Regions from separate parts of the Homo sapiens genome. Here region 1 is linked to region 2. The links are contacts of gene promoters, found by promoter capture Hi-C in human tissues and cell types (Jung and others, 2019). All regions are on one chromosome and are shown on one strand. Each heading gives the region's core, a stretch centred on a gene start or on the middle of the fragment in contact. The rest is flanking DNA. Distances are from core to core; before and after follow the strand shown.

The links. The method cuts DNA at HindIII sites, captures the fragments that hold promoters and counts their contacts. A contact is called where the count stands out against the background at its distance.
Region 1: a fragment that was not itself captured here is called in contact with the fragment with the promoter of AASS in region 2 in 1 of the 25 tissues and cell types used here (mesendoderm cells).

What each region holds. Positions count from the first base shown.
Region 1 is chr7:122,459,681-122,466,402 of GRCh38, forward strand. All of the region lies in intron 14 of CADPS2 (calcium dependent secretion activator 2), which reads right to left. Among named protein-coding and RNA genes, the nearest start is that of FEZF1, 160 kb to the left of the region's middle. The HindIII fragment of the contact is 4,156 bases long and covers 2,634-6,722 here.
Region 2 is chr7:122,141,902-122,148,849 of GRCh38, forward strand. AASS (aminoadipate-semialdehyde synthase) reads right to left here and starts at 2,348. Exons shown (of 24, transcript NM_005763.4): 1 at 2,260-2,348. LOC102724527 (a long non-coding RNA gene) reads left to right here and starts at 2,513. Exons shown (of 6, transcript XR_007060500.1): 1 at 2,513-2,595. RefSeq lists enhancers at 1,172-1,677, 2,679-2,728 and a silencer at 1,979-2,178. The HindIII fragment of the contact is 13,093 bases long and covers 1-6,948 here.

The DNA of each region.
Region 1 (6,722 bases), core at 3,462-5,961, 320 kb after region 2:
TTAAAAACATTTAATTTTAAACTTACTTAAGAAGGTCCATAATATATCACCTATAAAATTTGTAAACAGATGGCCCAATGTCATTCAATTATTTACTCAATCAATATTTATGGACCACTTGGTCAGGTCATGGGACACAATGTAAGCACAACAGAAATGGTTTCTGCCCCAATAGAGTTTATAGTGGGAAAATGCATACAAAATAAAAATTAGACAATAAGTATACAATTACATTTAAGAAGGGCAAAAGTATAAACATCTGATCTAGTTTGGAGTGTCAGAGAAGGATTCAGTTTGGAAATGATATTTAACCTGAAATGTGATGAATGAGCAGCAGTCATTTAGGTGAAACCTGAAGCAGAAGGCAGTTTGAGGAGAGGCCCAGGATGTTCGCCATAGAGATGTCCAAATAATTTTTTAAATGCAAATTTTTTCATGTGACTTCTGCTTGCAGTATGGTGGACTAACTTGATACTCCCCAAATCCTTATTCACTACAAAACACCTAAATACTGCATAAGCCACAACAATTATATATTAAATGTTGTCCAGCTCTTACTAGAAAGTAAAATAATTCTCCCAAGGGTGGGAGAACAAAACAAATGAACCTGATGAAAGCAAAGAAGGGGCAAATATGAACAACATGGCTGTCTTGGTGGTAAATATCAATACTGAGAAAGCTTTACAGCTGCATCCAAGGGAATGGATCACTGAGCCATAGACCTAATTTGGATGAGCTGCTAAGCCTGAGACACCTGCATAAAAATGGGACCCTAGAATGGGTTATAGTATCAGTGAAAGGATAGTGCACTCCCTAACATCAAGGAAAAACAAGAACAAGTCCTCTTTAGAGGGAAGCATTCAGAGCCCAGGACTTTTAAGAATTCCCACATATTAATCTTAAGTATAAATGTTTATTACAAAAAAATGCTAATTGCATTAAAAAATAATAAACAAGTGACCATGGCAAAAATGTCGGCAGAAACAATAGAAAATTCAGTTATTTGAAAGATAATATGAAATAATTATAAAAGATCTAAGGAAACAAAAAATGGAATCAAACCAAGAAAGGAAAAAGATATTCAGAAGTAATCAAGCAGAGCTCAAAAAGAATCAAACAGAATAACAGAATTTCCAGGACTAAATAATTTGTTAACTGAAATTAATAAATCAATAAGTGAGTGAAACAGTAGATGTCAGAGCTGAAGAGAGAACTGAAGAAATAGAGTAAGGGTTGGCAAACTACGGCCTTTCATCTGCTTTTGTCAATATAATTTTGTTGGGACAAGCCACACTAATTCATTTCTATATTGTCCATGACTGCTTCTGCACAGCAATGGCGGAGTTGTATAGTTGTAACAGAGACTACATGGTCAAAAATAGTTACAAGATTTTGTATAGTTACAAAGCCCAAAATAGTTGTCATGTTTACTGTAGAGCCCTTCACAATAGCAGCCAATTCCTCAACTGGAAGACAGAATTGAAAACATTACACAGGATGCAGCTGGAAAAATACGTAGATAGAATACATTTTAGAGACATTAAAAGATATAGAAGATAAAATGCCTAGTACATGGGTAATTGGAGCTTCAGATGAGAAGAAAAAGATTGTAGAAGAGACAATATTTAAAGAGATAATGCTATTCCAGAACTGATGACAAATATAAATCTTTATATTCCAATCAGGGTAAATAAAAAGAAATGCACACCTATACAATATCATGGCAGGTAGATTAGAAATTCATATATGTCCCAATCACAATAAATTAAAAGAAATCCATACAAAGAAACCTTACAGTGTACTTACAAAACACAAAAGAACAAAAGAATCTTTTTTTAAAAAAAGCATCCAGAGGAAAAAGAGGAATCATCCTCAAAAGACTAGCATTTGTACTGCCAAGAGCCTTTTTTGTTGTTGTTTTGTTTTGTTTTTTAAGATGGAGTCTCGCTCTGTCACCAGGCTGGAGTGTAGTGGCGCCATCTCGGCTCACTGCAACCTCTGCCTCTCAGGTTCCAGTGATTCTCCTGCCTCAGCCTCCCAAGTAGCTGGGACGACAGGTGCGTGGCACCATGCCTGGCTAATTTTTGCATTTTTCAGTAGAGAGGGGGTTTCAACATATTGGCCAGGCTGGTCTCAAATTGCTGACCTGGTGATCCACCCGCCTCGGCCTCCCAGAGTGCTGGGATTAAAGGTGTGAGCCACCTCGCCTGGCCTGCCAAGAGCCTTCTTAATGGCAACAAAGAAAATCAGAAGAAAATGAATGTCTTCAAAGTTCTAAGAGAAAATAACCATCAACCTAGCACTGTACACCTAGCAAAACTTTCTTTGAAAAAATAGGATGAAACAAAAGAAATTCCCAATAACAATTCACAGTGTATAAGAGTCCATTTATAGGAAAGTCCAAAGAACATTCTTCAGAAAAAAGGAAAATTGTTTCTAAATCTAAGCAAATACGAAGTACAAAATAAGAAAGATAATATTAATTTATAAGCTTAGGAAAAAAGGATATAACTAAAATACCACAGAATTTAAGTATGTAAGCCAGAAAGGGGGTGACTGGAGGGTAATATTCTAAGGACTCTGAACTACCTAGGAGGAGAAATTTGTTAATTAGCATAAGACTTTAAAATTTCAGCAACATGCCTGGTAAATCTCAAATGTAATTGTTGGAAAATATAAACTGTTAAGAGAAAAAAAAAGAATTAAAGAAAATAACTTCAATGAAACAAAAAGTATACCAATAAAAAGTTTATAGAACATGAGCCAAAAAAGAAAGCTTAAAATAAAATGGTAGAAATGGATTTACTTTTATTAACATGTGATTTACTTTTATTAATATGTGATTTACTTTTATCAATTACATGATAAATGTAAATGGACCAAACTAATTAAAGGACAGAAATAGTCATATTGAAAAATTAAATCAAAATCTAGTTTGCTATTTATAAAACACTAAAGTACAAGAATATAGAAAGGCTAACGATGTGAACATGCATCAGATAAACACTCATCAAAAGAAAGCTACATTAATAATCACCTACATATCATGCAAAAATCATTATTAGTTATGATGATCATCACCAAATGATGATAACAATGTTCATCTACCAGGAATATCTAACAATCTTAAGCTTGAACACAGAACAGCCTTGGGCCAGGCACAGTGGCTCATACCTGTCATCCCAGCAATTTGGGAGGCCAAGGAGGAAGATCACTTGAGCCCAGGAGTTTGAGACCAACCTGTGTGACATAATGAGATTTTGTCCCAACAAAAAGCAACTCCTCAAAAACCAGCTTCAAAATATACAAAGCAAAAATTTACAGAAATAGAGAGCAAAAACCACCATGACAGTGGTAAATCACCACTCACGTTGGTCATAACCCCACAGATCAAACAGGCAAGAATTAGTAAGACTTTAGAAGATCTTAACCACACAAATCCTGTTTGCACTGCCTAAAGAATACATATATTTTTTTTTAAGTGACAGAAAACATTTATAATATTTGACACATATTTGGCCACAAAGGAAATCTCAACAAGTGATAAAGAATTGGTATCACACAGATCACATTCTCTGAACACAAAGGAATTAGGTAAGAAATCAGTTCTCAAGAAAATAACCAAAAATCTTCATATTCTTAGATTTTTTTTTTTTTGAGGTGGAGTCTCGCTCTGTTGCCCAGGCTGGAGTGCAATGGCATGATCTCGGCTCACTGCAAGCTCCACCTCCCAGGTTCATGCCATTCTCCTGCCTCAACCTCCCAAGATATTTTAAAACGTACTTATAAATAACCTTGTGTCAATAAATTATGAAAAGTTAAAATTACTTAGAATCAATTTTAATTAAATAGTACATAAGACATTTCTATATGTAGTAAAAACAGAATTTAGTGGGGGAAGTTACAGCCCTAAACTCTTAGAAAAGAAGAAAAGCTGGCAAGTAGTGAGTTACACATCTAACATAAGAAGTTAGGAAAGATGACATAACCTCACTAAGGAGGGTGGGAGAAAAAGCTGCTTTCCTATTCATCTTTGGCAAACAGTATTTTGACTGGAAACTGAAAGGTTTTGTAGACAAGTACTATAGCCTAGTTGGTGAATTCCAAAACTGCTTTGCATGAAGTTCAGGGGTTGAACAATTTTGTAAATGGATGGTGGAAGTAAGATTTCTCACTGTTGAAAAGATAAGTTAAAGATAAGGAAGAAAAGCATGCTGAAATGAATGTTGATGTCCTAGATTCCAGTTGGAGACGTCAGTATGAACTCATGGTTTAGTACACATCATATATCACCTAGCTCTGTCCAACTGAGAGGGCCTGGAAGCTATGATTTTTCCAGCAGAAATAAACACACATGTCACCTAGATCTTGGTTTCTAAATACCATTCTCTAAAAAACAAACAAACAAACAACAACAATAACAAAACCAGAGCTCCTTGGAGAACTGATTAATTCTTAGGCTAGAGTAGGGAAAATAAAAGATGAGCTTGCAGCATGTCAGATTGCCAGAAACTAAGAAAGTGCTCAAAAACCAAATGAGTGGGGCATATCAAAGGGAGCCAGTATAAAAGAGCTTTCAATAGCTACAGCAGGAACAATCTGAGCAACAAAGTAATTTAGATATTATTAGATTGTAACCCAAGGTATAAAGCAACTGCACATGAATCTATACGGATATAAACAAATGGTTAAATAAATAAATTGGAAAGAAGAGACATATATTCCTTACAGAAGAATTCTGAATAACGTATGCAGATAGTTCTCCTTCTAGGAGTTGGGGTTTATTTCCTGTCTCCTCTTCAGTGTGTTTTATTGGACTTAGCTATTTTCTTCAAACTAGAGTATAAAAAAATAAAAATGACATCTTTACAGTAGAGAAATGTGACAAATACTACCAGGATGTCACGCGGATATTATGTACTCCCTGATAGAATGTGATGAGAAGGGTATTTCATCTCTTTACAAAAACTCATAATCTCAGGCTAATCATGAAAATGTCAGACAAACCCAAACTGAGAGACATTTGATAAAACACTTGACTAGTACTCCTCAAAACTGTCAAGGTCACAAAAAACAGACAAAAAAATCCCTAAGAAACTGCTACAATCATGACAATTAAGTGCAACTTGGTACCCTGAATTGAATCTTGGAGCAGAAAAAAGGACATTAATTTAAAAAACTGGTGAAATCTGAATAAGGACTGGTGTTCAGTTAATACTAGTGTGCCAACGTTGATTTCTTAGTTTTGACAAATGTATGACAATAACATTAAGGGAAACGGAAATACGAAAACTCTATGCACTCTTTTAGTAACTTTTCTGTAATCTAAAATTATCGTAAAATAAAAAGTATATCTAAAAAAGAAACAATAGAGTTCAACAAAGCCAAAAGTTGCTCCTTTGAAAAGACCAATAAACTTGATGGATTAAGAGAAAAAAAGAGAGAGAAGGTAAAAATGAACAATATTAGACTGAGGAAGGGAAGAATTGTAGATCGAGCAAAAAATACAAAGAAAACAACTTGAATAACTTAATATCAATACATTTAATAACTTAAATGAAATCTACCATTTCCCAGAAAATCATAACTTGCCCAAACTGACTCAAGAATAAATAGAAAGCCTGAGAATTTCTGTAGCTACAACATAAACTACAACAGTTAAAAATCTTTCCACAAATAAATTCCCAAGCCCAGATGGTTTAAAACAGGGGTCCCCAATACCCGGGCTGTGGACTGGTACCAATCCATGGCCTGTTTGGAACTGGGCCATACAGCAGGAGGTGAGCGGCAGGCAAGCGAGTACTGCCTGACTTCCACCTCCTGTCAGATCAGTGTCGGCATTAGGTTCTCACAGGAACCTGAACCCTATCGTGAACTGTGCATACAAGTTATGTGCTGCTTATGAGAATCTAAGTAATGCCTGATGATCTGAGGTGGAACAGTTTCATCCCAAAACCATCCCCATCCTACCGTTCCACCCCATCCATGAAAAATTTACCTTCTATGAAACCGGTCGCTGGTGCCAAAAAGGTTGAGGACCACTGGTTTAAAAGATGAGATACTGGTAAACTACAAAAAGCCATTCAAGTCTTATACAGAGCAAGTGGGAAAGCTCCCCAGTTCATTTTGTGTGGCTACAGTAACCTAGATACCCAATCCTGATAAAACCAGTATGAGAAAGTAAAATAACAAGCCAATTTTGTACGTCAACATAGATCTACAAATATCAAACTGGGACGGCAATGGTAGTGGTAAATAACACCTATGTACATATAGAGCTTTCTTTGATTGTTTCTACATACAACATTACATACTGTTTTTGAAAAACTTACTGTGTTAAAAATGATAAGAAGATCCAACTTAAGACCCAAAAACTTTGTCCTATACCTAACTATTGACGAGAAGAAGGCTCTAAAGGTATGAAGTTTAAGAAAAGCTATGTCAAGGTGTAACCCTTGTTTCTGTTCATGGTTAATGTGATATAGTCTAATATATACTAAAAAATTTCCTTTGCCTTGTCTCTTCCTCAGACCTTCAGCAGGCTGTTTTATTTAATATCTCACAAAGATCCAGGAGTTGCACAGTTTGAATGGAAGGTGTGGAAGGAAGACAGAGGAAATTAATTAGGTGGCCTTAGCAACTATTTCCCAAATTGCAGTCTGTCTACATACTTATCCTGGATGACGGGGTTCTAGGCTCCTGCTTTTCGCTGTCTTTGCCAC
Region 2 (6,948 bases), core at 1,098-3,597:
GAATTACAAAAACATTAGAAATGTAGAACATAAATAGGCACTCTGACTTATGAATTTCTAGCTAAAGTACACCAAACAGGGAAACAAAATACCAAAAACACAATCAAGAAAGAGTGGACATTCACCTAAGCTACCTGCATTAATAGCATGGACCAGGAACCAAGAGCTTGCAACAGAAGATGGATACCTCAAAGGAATACTGGTTTCTCTCCTGGGTTCCTCAGCGGCCAAACTTACTCTGTGACCTTGGCTGGCAACTTAACCTGTCTGTGCATCATGCGCAAAATGAGAATCATATTAACCTCTACCTCTTAGGGCTCTTAAGACGTTTAATTGAGCTAATATGCATAAAGTGCTGAGCATTGCTGTGTGTCATAAACAATAAATTTTAAGAAAAGAAAAAGCCTCCAGGCTTGCCTACTCCTCAAAAGCGAGCACAACCACGCCGCTAACAGTAGACTCACATTTCTTTCCTCTGTCACACTGTAGTAAGACCTTCACGATGGCTCCATATTAATCCCCCACCCTTACATTATTTTGGAAAAAAAATAATTAGAGCCCAATAAGCCCTCTCTTCAACTTCAAACTTCAGGCATGCATGTTCAAGATAAATAAATTACCATTTTAATGTTGTATTTCATCAAATTTAAGACAATTTTTTTACACATTTTAGCATCAGTGAAATAGGGATGCATCTTACAATAGATGACACCTTAGATCAGATGAATGTGGTAATAATGTTTTGGGGTTATTTTCCATTCCAAATGTTTGTTTCCATGATTTCATGAATTGCATAGAATCTTTTGTAGCCTTCCCAAGAAAACTTACCACTGTTTGTAATGTTATTTCTATGAGAAAATTAATAAAAGAATATATGAAAAAAATGAAAATGTTTTGTTAAATGGTGGCTTCTTAAACACCAAAGATCATTTCCAAAATTCCGAACCAAGGTCTGTTAAACGACTAGTGAGAAAAAAAATTCAATGACAAATAAACCAAAGTTCTGATCACGCCATCATCAATAACAAGTGAAACTGATAACAAATATGATTATCTGAAGAGTGGGAAAATGATTCAGGTAAATTGGCTTCAATTTTTGTCCACCTAACTCATTTTGCAGAATGGCCACCAGGTTACACAGTCAAGTCATGTAGCCCTAGATTCACTCATCTTCATGGGAAAAAAAGAAGAGGGGAGTGCAGGGGACAAAACAGACAAACCCAGAAACACCAAAGTGCCATCAGTGTTTTGGGATTTTTTTTAATACAGTATTGGAAAGCCGCAGCTTCAGTCAAGGACCATTCCGTCCTGTGTATAACTACATCTCACAGCTGCACCTTCCCCACTGATAACCCACAACATCAAAAAATGTTAATCCTTGTTCAAGTTACTGAACTAATTCATTCTCTCTCGCGCTCGAGCGCTCTTTCTCTCTCTCTCTTCCGCTCCCCCCACCCCCATTCCCCTGAAATCAATGTCTGAAAAGCACATTTCTTCTTCTGAAGCTGTCAGGATAGACAGACATTCAGCCCCATTCAACCGAGGAGGGTGGGTAAACTGCTTCTCCCCGCGCCCCGTCCCGCGCGAGCGCTCACAATGGGCTGCATAGTCCCGCAGGGGCTGAAGAGTTCAGGAAACCCAGACTTGCAAGGCGCCCAACTTCCACCCATCTCCGATCCTTGCTGGAGAATGGGTCTGTGTCTCGGAGAGTGGGCAGCCCAAGATGGACAAGGAGAGAAGTTTGTGATCAGTTTGGCTAAGCTGGGCGTGGGGAGGGAAGGGGGAAAGAACCACCCCGAAATCTCCATCCACCGCCCCCTCAGCCAGCCGTCCCCTCTAAGCACGCCGTCCACAAATTAACAAGCCGTTGTTTCCTCAGCTTCATCAGTTCTTTATTCCCCAGCCACAGCACCACCACTGTCCGCCAAAAAAGAAAGAAAAGAAATCCGAATTGCAATCCCTCGCCTTTCTACTTAGAAATGCTGGAGCTGCGCTGACCGCTCTCCCTCCCTTCCTCGCAGTGAAACTCTCTGCGTTTCCGCTCTCCCTCCATTCCTCGCAGGGAGGCCCGAATGCTCGCCGCCTTCTCCCTCTCTCGGCCCGGCCGGGGTCGCCTCGCGGCGCCGGGACCCGAAGGCCAGGCTCGCGGGCCCCTCCCAGCGACAGCCCGAGCCCGGCCCGCTATCTCCACCGCATCTCACAGGCTGAGCCCACCCGCGCGTCTGCTCAGCTCTCCGCGGGGACCTCTCCTCTCCTCACCTCGTCCGCTCTGGGGCGCCGACTTGTCCCCCGCCGCCTCGAATCTTCCGAGTCGCTGCAGGGGAGGCTCCGAATTCCTAGAAGAAACTGGGATGGAAGGCCGGGAAGTAGGAGGTGTTTGCTCAACTTCTGAGGACGTCACGCCTCTGCCTCCCGTAGCCAATCAGCAGCCGCCCTGAGGGAACAACCTTCTCATCTGCCAATCGGCGGCGCTGCCAGTTGCTACGTCATGCCCGGCCCCTGCTCCTCCCCAAGATCCTTCTGTCTCTGATCTCTGATCTCTGACCTGCGTTCTTAGCTGGGACGTCGAGTTCTCCCAGGATAATTATCGACCAGGTTTGTAACTGTCCGTGGCAGAAGGCGGGCGGGGACGGAAAGCAACGAAAATAGTCTGGGCATTACGCTCTAAATAGAGGTGCACATCTCCTGGGGAAAAGTTGCGAGCGCCGGTACCTCACGTTTGTTTAGCTATAGACACTTTTCAAAGCATTTCACCGCCTTGTCACAACCCTGTGAAGCCAGATAACAGTTCTTACAACAGTTTTAGAAGCCAGCAAGCGGAGAATCTGAGAAATTAAAACTGAGTGTGTTCATGTGCATATGGCAATGTCCAATGTTATTGAAAAGTCCTAACTACCTAGGAGGCCTGGAGGGAGGGGGAAAACGTATTTCATAGACACTAGCCCCAGCACTAGGAACTGAAGAATCGTCTGAAGCCCAGCTGTGATTCCCCAAGGCGTCAACGGTCAGAAGTTAATCTTCCCTCCTGTTTTTACAACTTTCTCCACCACTTACTCTTCTTATACCTGCCATAGATGTATTTAGCTACTGAACTCCTATGTCAACAATCTATAGCCAGAACGTTCTTGAGACTCCACTCATATCTCCAATTGCAGAGAAAATTATTTATTTATTTATTTGTGGTAGACATGGGGTCTCGCTGTGTTGACCAGGACACTGGTCTGGAACTCCTAGCCTCAAGCTATCCTCCCACCTCGTCCTCCCAAAGCACTGGGATTACAGGTGTTAGCCACTGTGCCCAACCCCAAATTAGAATTTTATCTGTAAGTAGAGTTGGAATTTTCTTCTGTATCTTCAGCTTCACATTTCCAAAATCGGATCCCTTATCATTCTTGGAAAGTCTTCCAAAGGCTGTGTAGTGGTTCACACCTGTAATCTCAGCACTTTGGGAGACTGAGGCTGGAGAATCACTTGAGCCCAGGAGTTTAAGACTAACCTGGGCAACGTAGCAAGACCTGTGTCTACTAAAAATAAAAATAATAAAAATAAATAAAATTTTAAAAAGCCAGGTGTAGTGGCACATACCTGTGGTCCCAACTACTTAGGAGGCTAAGGTGGAAGGATCACTTGAGCCGCAGGATGTTGAGGCTGCAGTGAGCCATGATCATGCCACTGCACTGTAGTCTGGGTGACAGAGTAAGACCCTGTCTCAAAAAATAAAATAAAATAAAGCCTTCCCTTTTGTGCTCACCAGCTCTGTTACTAATATCACTGCCTTCCTACTCACCACCTATCCAGACTTAAAAAGCCACGGTCACTTCAGTTCTTCCTCTGGCCCCTCAGCCTTACCCTTGGTGTTGACACTGTCCTTTAAAAACCCCACTACTATCACCCTACTTCAAACCCCTTTTTATATATAACGTAGACCATATTTTTTTAAGCATACAACTCCAATTGTCTCATTGGCCTAAGCAAAAAGCCTCAGAGACTACCCAGTACTTGTGGAACATTAGCCCAACGTTCTTCACATAATGTTAGTTGCTTCAGATGTGGCCAAAATCAATGACCTTGGCTTTATTTCTGCAGCAGAACCAGCCTGAAACCACCACTGAAACACAATTTATGCCTTGCTATCTTCCTAAGGATTAAGCATCTGGGTAAGAATGTAAGAATCCTTACTCTTCTCCTTTGAGTTGTAAATCATGGGCAAGTTACTTAGTTTTCAAAAAAAGCCTGTGCTCCATTATCTGTTAATGGGTTAATAATAGCCACTACTTCGTGGAGTCATGAGAACAAAATGAGATAATGGCCAAAGTGCCCTGTTAATTGTCTCACTGAAGAAACTGGAAATCATTATTTATTTTCCTCCAAATACCTCATGTTGTAGACTTATCTGTAATTCTAATTTACAAAAATATTCACCTTTCTAAAACTAACCAGCCCTTTGGGGTTCAGCTCAAATGCCACTTAAATAATGAAAACTTTCCTGAATATTTCAACCACATGTGATTGTTTCCCTTCTCCCTTGTGTATTGGCCTCTCTTATTGTACTTATCACATTCTTCCTTTTATCACAGTTATTCATACTTACCTTATCCACATTGCTCAGCTCACCTGTCATCACCACCATAAAATAAGAATATGTACGTGGACTTCCTCTTTTCTTTTCTTTTCTATTTATTTATTGCTTCTAGTACGATGCTATGCGTGTAATAAGTCAGTTGGGGTCTTAGCAGGAAATAGGTGGCACAATCCAACTGGGTAAATTAGGAGACACAAAAGGACTGAGTGTATGCAGGGATAAAGGAAAGTGGCAGTATATGTGCCATGTAGTCCCTGGGACTAGCAACACTGACAATCACTCGTAGGCCTAAACAGGGCCAGGGAAAGAAATAATTACCAGAACTCAGGAATAGTTCTACCTGTAGTGTAGCTGTAGCTGTAGCTGTAGAGAGTGCCATTCAACCAACAGTAGTGGTTTGTGACAGGAATAAAGCTGCCTAAAGATTAATCCTGCCGGCCGGGCACAGTGGCTCATGCCTGTAATCCCAGCACTTTGGAATGCCAAGGTGGGCAGATCACCTGAGGTCAGGAGTTTGAGACCAGCCTGGCCAACATGGTGAAACCCTGTCTCTACTAAAAATACAAAAATTAGCCAGGCATGGTGGCAAGGGCCCGTAATCCCAGCTACTTGGGAGGCTGAGGCAGGAGAATCGCTTGCACCCGGGAGGAGGAGGTTGCAGTAAGCCGAGATGACACCACTGCATTCCAGCCTGGGTGACAAGAGTGAGACTCCATCTCAAAAACAAACAAAAAAAGATTAATCCTACCTGAAGAGGAACCTACCTAAGGCAGGGGTCAACAAACTTTTTTCTGTAAAGGGCCAGAAAATAAATATTTTAGGCTTCACAGATCATACCATCTCTGTCATGTCATGACTACTCAACTCTGCTGGCTGGAATGTAAAAGGCAGCTATAGGCCATATTTAAATGGATATGTGTGGCTGTGTTTTGATAAAACTTAATTTACAAAAGTAGGCTGCAGGGCAGATAGGGCCTCTGGGCTACAGTTTGCAGACCCCTGTTCTTCCATAGGGAAGGAATAATCTTACTTCACTCTCCTCCTGCCCCTTCATCTCCTGCTGATGGCTTCTACTATTTGGACATAAATAGAGCCAGATTGTTAGTGAAGTCCAAAAAGATCACCTCCCATTCTGGGGGCAGAGCAGGTGCAGAAAGGGACAGAAATTCTAGAGGGTTCAAAGGAGAATATTCAACACAAAATGTTTTCAGCAACTACTTGTTGAAATGAATGAATCGTATGACTGGTCACTGTGAATCCCACTGCAAATGATTGAACGCTCATGGAAAAACTGCTGAAATTTAATTCCTAAGTAGGAAAAGCTGGGAAAGGGCCCTGGACCATCATGACTTCAACAAGGACCTGAGGCTCAGTGTGCTTCTCTCTTGCTTTACTTTAGGAATTTTGCAAAATATACACATGAGAAATACTGGTTCTTGAAATGAGGAATTTCAAACATTTTTCAGTGTAGTGACATTTGTTGTAATGAGTGTGACAGATCTCAGAAATTTCTTTATAATGAAAAGGGATAACAGATGAGAGACAAAAACAAACCTTGGATACCCCTCAGGTCAGCTCCTGCAGTCAATCCCTCAAATGTTTTTAATAAGGGAGACCTCTTCCATCCACATTGGGTGCTGAGTCCGTGCTCCTGAAATTGGGAAGTTGATTCTAGCCACTCAGGCTGCCTCTCTTTCTCCCACCTACTTTGGTTTTCTCTCTTCCCCAGTCATTCTCTATTTTCGTCTGGTTCTTCCTGTGAGGTCCTGAAAGGTAGTGGTTTGGCACTTGAGCACCAGAGTGAATGGGACTTAGATTTAATCCCTTCTTTGCCTCTCACTAGCAAGTCACTAAGTCTCGCTTTCTCCCATCAGGACAGTGGAGAACATCATAGGGTTGTCAAGATTAAATGAGCCATGTTCTTAATATATGTGAGCTAATGTTAAAGCTTACTAGTTTGTCCTGTTTTATCACCCCCTCACCTTTCATTGCATTTGGAACCCAGTCTCACTTTTAAATAAGTTTTTCTATAAAGATAAAACAAGTAGGTATTTGAGAGGAGAAGGAGGAAGAAATCCAGCATGCTCCTAAATGTGTTCCATTTATTTCTCAAAATTTTATACATTTAAGTCCTCACTTAACATCATCAACACGTTCTTGGAAACTGTGACTTTAAGCAAAACAACATGCAGCAGGTCATTGAATAGCATAATTTTATTCAATATAGTTTTGTTATAACATTGATAAGAAAAAATGGTTTTGTTACATACATATATATATATATGTCATTTTGCTTAAAGTCATAGTTTCCAAGAACCTATGGATGACATCAAGTCAAGACTAATTGTATTTCTTAAATGAACAGC